2 separate regions of the Homo sapiens genome follow, and region 1 is linked to region 2. Evidence: promoter capture Hi-C in human tissues and cell types (Jung and others, 2019). All regions are on one chromosome and are shown on one strand. Each heading gives the region's core, a stretch centred on a gene start or on the middle of the fragment in contact. The rest is flanking DNA. Distances are from core to core; before and after follow the strand shown.

Region 1 (3,016 bases), core at 157-2,656, 220 kb after region 2:
GCCTCATGAAAAAAGGTACTAAAAAAAAAAAAAAAAGAATGAACATCGATTGACAGGACTAGCATCATTTCACCATGATTCATTAAAAGAAAGTGCCAAACCAGTGTTTGTGCTGAATTCAAGCATTTTCTAAATTCCCAAGTGGAAAAAAAAAATCTCTTATAGGTCTGCTCAGAGGGAAAATAGGCTTGCAGTCCACTTACTGCCCACGCACCAAAGGCTGCCTGGACCAGAGCCGGTGGGATTGGAGGAGGGGATTCTGCCTTTGCCTCCCTTCCTCCAGAAAGAACACTCCCTAACGTGGGAGCCCATCCAGCCGCACAACGCTGTGTCCACGTCTTCGGGAAGGGGAATGGCTAGTGTCTGTCTTCTCAGAGCAGCTGGACTCAGTTCTCTGTGAGAACAGTACAAAGACATAGATATTCCTCGGCTTGGAGTCTACACTTGGTATTGTCGGGTTTTTATTTTTTATTTACTTATTTTTTGTTTTTTGAGACAGAGTCTAGCTCTGTTCCCCAGGCTGGAGCGCAGTGGTGCAATCTCGGCTCACTGCAACCTCCGCCTCCCGGGTTCAAGCGATTCTCCTGCTTCAGCCTCCCAAGTAGCTGGGATTACAGGTGCACGCCACCACGCCTGGCTAATTTTTTGTATTTTTAGTAGAGACGGGGTTTTACCATGTTGGCCAGGCTGGTCTCGGACTCCTGACTCCTGAGGCCCACCTCAGCCTCCCAAAGCACTGGGATTACAGGCATGAGCCACCGTGCCTGGCCTCGTCAGGGTTTTTAATTATAAATTTAAATTTTATCGATTTGAGTACATGTGAAGTGGCATCTCATTTTCATTTTAACTTGCATTTCCCTGATGTCTAATGAGCGCTGAGTGTCTTTTCCTGACATAACTGGTCCTTTCTGTCTTTCTCCTGTTGTTCTTTCCCTGACTTCTTTTGGATTAGTCAGATATTTTCTATTATTTCTCTTTTCTTTATTGGCTTCTTAGCCAAACCCCTTTTGTTCATTTTTTCCCTAGTGCTTTTTCTCCTGGGCACAGACTACGTATGCCTCACATATCAAATTTAATGTAGGGTCAATATTGTATCACTTCAGTCTTCCCTCTTCATACATAACCCTTTGCATCTTGCACCTCACACCTGGAGTTCCACACTTCACAGTGTGAGGAGCTTATCAGTGGGTTACCTCTCACCATCCATCCTTCACACTGTCCTTACCTTTTACTTCTACACACACTGTAGAAGTATCACAAGCTATTGTTTGTTTTAAACAGTCAGTGGTCTCTTAAAGAAATTATGAGAAGGGCCGGGTGCAGTGGCTTATGCCTGTAACCCAGCACTTTGGGAGGCCAAGGTGGGCAGATCACCTAAGGTCAGGAGTTCAAGGCCAGCCTGGGGAAGACCCCCTGCCGTCTCTACAAAAAATTAAAAAATTAGCTGGCATGGTGGTACGTGCCTGTGGTCCCAGCTACTTGGGAGGCTGTAGTGGGAGGATGGCTTGAAGCCAGAAGACTGAGGCTACAGTGAGCCGTGACTGTGCCCCTGCACGCCAGCCTGGGCGACAGAGCAAGACCCTGTCCCCCCACCAAAACATTTTTTTTCTCTTGATCTATTTCACCAGTTTGAGTATGATATGCCTGCATGTAATTTTCTTTGTATGTGTTCTCTTCAGGTTTTGCTGAATTTCTTGATCTGTAAATCAGTATTTTTCACCACGTGTTTGGATTTGGAGCCATCATTTTGCAAAAATGTTTCCTTCCTAGACTCATACTCTCCTTCTGGAGCTCCGATCACACATGCTTTTGGCCATTTCATACTGTCCCATAGGTCTCTGAGGTTCTCTCCACTTTTCTTCAACTTTTTTCTCTTCTTCAGATTAAATAATTTCTATCCATCTGCCTTCAAGATCCCAAACTCCTGTTTTCTCCAATCTGTTAATCCAATTCAGTGAAATTTTCATTTCTGTTATTGTACTTTTCAGTTCTAGACTTTTCTTTTGATTCTTTTAGATACTTTGTTATTCTGCTGTGAATTTCTGATTCTTTACTCATTAAGACAATATTTTCATTTAATCCTTTGGACATATTATTTTTATTTATTTTGAGATGGAGTCTTGCTCTGTCACCCAGGCTGGAGTGCAGTGGCACTATCTTGGCTCACTGTAACCTCCACCTCCCGGATTCAAGCGATTCTCCTGCTTCAGCTTTCCGAGTAGCTGGGGCTACAGGCGTGCGCCACCACACCCAGCTAATTTTTGTGTTTTTAGTAGAGATGGGGTTTCACCATGTTGGCCAGGCTGATCTCAAACTCCTGGGCTCAAGTGATCTGCCCACCTCGGCCTCCCAAATTTCTGGGATTACAGGTGTGAGCCACCGTGCCCAGCCTCCTTTGGACATATGTAGAGCTGCTTTAGAATCTTTGTAAATACAGAATCTGGTTCATTGTAGGGGGATTGGTTTCTGTTAACTGCTTTTTTTTTTTCTTAACTATGGCTTACGTTTTCCTCTTTCTTTGTATGTTTAGTGATTTTTGTTTTTTTAGTGTATATTCAACACTGATAAATAACAAATGAGGGAGACTCAGGGTGCTCTTCCACTGAAAAATCCTGACTTTCGTTCTAGTTTGTAGTTCCATTACTGGACGTACCATGCTGGGCTGTGTAGGCTTAGCTTTAGGCTCTGTTTACTGAGCAATGTCCCAGGTGTCTCCCAGGCCCCTCTTACTTGGCAGGACTTAACCTCCAAACTCTGACCGTCTTGTGGATCGGGTCAGGGTTTTGCTTTAGACGTTGTTAAGGCGGGCCTGGAGTAGTCCTTATTCTAGGGGAGGGACTGGCAACCTCTGGCTCACAAGCCACATGTGTTGATGGCCTGTTTTTGTACAGCACTTAAAGCCAGGAATGGCTTTTATATTTTTAAAGAGTTGTTTAAAAAAAAAAAAAAAACAAGCAAAAATATGAAACAAAAACTGCATGTGGCCCACACAACCTAAAATACTTATCTGGGCCCT
Region 2 (2,769 bases), core at 113-2,612:
TTTTTATGAAAAATTTCATACATAGAAAATGTCAGAAGATAGGTCAATGAAGACCTGTATTCCTGCCTGTAGACGCCACACTTGTATTTTTTTGAGACGGAGTCTCACTCTGTCACCCAGGCTGGGGTGCAGTGGCGCGATCTCGGCTCACTGCAAGCTCCGCCTCCGGGGTTCACGCCATTCTCCTGCCTCAGCCTCCTGAGTAGCTGGGACTACAGGCGCCCGCCACCACGCTCAGCTAATTTTTTGTGTTTTTAGTAGAGACGGGGTTTCACCGTGTTAGCCAGGATGGTCTCGATCTCCTGACCTCATGATCCGCCCGCCTCGGCCTCCCAAAGTGCTGGGATTACAGGCGTGAGCCACCGCGCCCGGCCAACGCCACAACTGTTAACAGTGTGCCATAGTTGCTTATCTGCATACACATATGTGCGTGTAATGATTTACTTTTTTGCAGAATGAATTACAGACATCATGACAGGTCACCTTTACCAAAGAGTTCTGCAGTTATTTCTAAAAATAAAGAATATTTTTCTACTTCAGGGTATGTCAAACTGTGGCCCTAGGCCAAATGCAGCCTCCCCGTTTTTTTTTTTGTTGTTGTTTTTTGAGACAGAGTCTCACTCTGTCGCCCAGGCTGGAGTGCAGCGGCGCAATCTCGACTCACTGCAACCTCCGCCTCCCGGATTCAAGCAATTCTCCTGCCTCAGCCTCCTGAGTAGCTGGGATTACAAGCGCCCGCCACTACGCCTGGCTAATTTTTGTATTTTTAGTAGAGACAGGGTTTCACCATGTTGGTCAGGCTGGTCTCAAACTCCTGACCTCGTGATCCACCCGCCTCAGCCTCCCAAAGTGCTGGAATTACAGGCGTGAGCCACCGCGCCCGGCACACCCCTGGTTTTAAAAATAAAGTTTCGAGCCGAGAGTGGTGGCGCCCGTGGTCCCAGCTCCTCGGGAGGCTGAGGCTGGGGGATCCCTGGAGCCCGCGAGGCAAAGGCTGCAGTGAGCCGAGATCGCGCCTTGCACTCCAGCGTGGGTAACAGAGCGAGACCCTGTCTCAGGAAAAAAATACAAGTGGGGTTATAAATAAAATGAGATTAAAAAACAACAGATCTTTGCCTCAGAATCCCGACCCACCGCAGCCCCAGCGAGGCGCAGGCGCAGGCGCAGGCGCGCGCTCGCTGGTTCCGCCCATGCGCACAGGCAGGGAGCGCGCGCCCCCTCTGTAGCCTTCGGCCTCCGGGGGCTGCAGTTGCGCGGCTCGGCCACTGCGCGGCGGTGGCGTGCGCCTGGGCGGTGTCGCGGGCTGTGACGTCACGCCACGCGCCGGGGCCAGGAGGAGGCGGGCGCAGGAGGCGCGTGCTCAGTGTGCTGGGTACCAGGCGACTCCGGGACAGGGGGTCTCGGCCGTCGGCGTCATGGTTTCGCGCGTGCAGCTCCCGCCTGAGATCCAGCTGGCTCAGCGCCTGGCGGGGAATGAGCAGGTGACCCGGGACCGGGCGGTGAGGAAGCTCCGGAAATACATCGTCGCCAGGACTCAGCGGGCCGCAGGTTGGCGGGGGTGTGGGCGGCTGGCGTCTCGGGGGCCGGCTGGGCTGGTGCGGGTGTGGGCGGCGGCGGCCGGAGCTGGGGGCCCTCCGAGCCCTGTGGAACCTCCACGTGGCCGGGCCGGGCAGGCGGGGTCCACTGGCCTGTTCCCGCTGTTACCGGCCCACGGCCCCCGCCGCCGCTTTCCCTCGTGGTGCGGTGACTCTGGTCCCTCTGCGAGAACGCTCCTCCCCAGCCCCGTAACCCCTTTCCTAGCTCAGGCGTCCCCTCCCTCCAGTAGACCATGTACTCCTGCTGCCCTGCTGTTTGGGCACCCAGTATTTTTCCCTCATGGCAGCATTTCCCACTGTTTGCAGTTTTCTGTTTTGCGTTAATTATTGGATTGTTTTCCGATTTCCACTCGAGAGTACCTCTCTGAGGGCCGAGAATCTACTTCTTGTTCATGGTACCAGGTGGTTCTCCGAGCGTGGTCCCCCATCAGCAGTAGCATCCCCTGGACATTTGTTAGAAATACACGTTCTATGCCGGGCGCAGTGGCCCAAGCCTGTAATCCCAGCTACTTGGCACGTCGATGTGGGAGGATCACAAAGGCCCAGGAGTCCAGCCTGGGCAACATAGCAAGACTCCATTTCCATCGCAAAAGAAAAGAAAGAAATGCAAGTTCTAGGATCCCAGCCCTACTAAATCAGGACTGGCATCTGCTTTATGAAGCTGTTCAAGTGCTTCTGCTCCCCACACTCAGCCTGAGAACCACTGCTGCAGGAACAGGTTGCCAGACACATAGGACTTCAGTGAATGTCAACTGAGTAATGTTTTAAATTAAAATTTTTTGTTATTTTTCTGAGTGAGACAGACCTCACTGTCATCCGTGGTGGAGGAGTGCATTGGCACGATTACAGCTCACTGCAGCCTCTACCTCCCAGGCTCAAGTGAGCCTCCCATCTCAGCCTCCCCAATAGCTGGGACTACTGGCACCGTGCGGCCAGGCCAGCTAAGTTTTGTATTTTTTGTACAAATTGGGGTCTTCCTATGTTGCCCAGACTGGTCTTGAACTCCTGGCCTCAAGTGATCCTGCCTCAGCACTCAATTCCAAAGTGCTGGGAGTACAGGCGTGAGCCACCGCACCTGGCCTCAGTAATTTCTGTTTCTCTCGTAGTCTGAATGCCTGAGTTCACTTTCTTCTTTTAGTATTTGAGATATATTACAGGAGAGTGCAGAAGCCCT

Evidence for each region. The method cuts DNA at HindIII sites, captures the fragments that hold promoters and counts their contacts. A contact is called where the count stands out against the background at its distance.
Region 1: a fragment that was not itself captured here is called in contact with the fragment with the promoter of RRP1 in region 2 in 1 of the 25 tissues and cell types used here (dorsolateral prefrontal cortex).

What each region holds. Positions count from the first base shown.
Region 1 is chr21:44,006,654-44,009,669 of GRCh38, forward strand. No RefSeq gene overlaps it. Among named protein-coding and RNA genes, the nearest start is that of TRAPPC10, 4.1 kb to the right of the region's middle. The HindIII fragment of the contact is 5,883 bases long and covers 1-3,016 here.
Region 2 is chr21:43,788,215-43,790,983 of GRCh38, forward strand. RRP1 (ribosomal RNA processing 1) reads left to right here and starts at 1,363. Exons shown (of 13, transcript NM_003683.6): 1 at 1,363-1,548. The coding sequence starts at 1,416. RefSeq lists silencers at 1,164-1,393, 1,604-1,773 and an enhancer at 1,424-1,533. The HindIII fragment of the contact is 35,062 bases long and covers 1-2,769 here.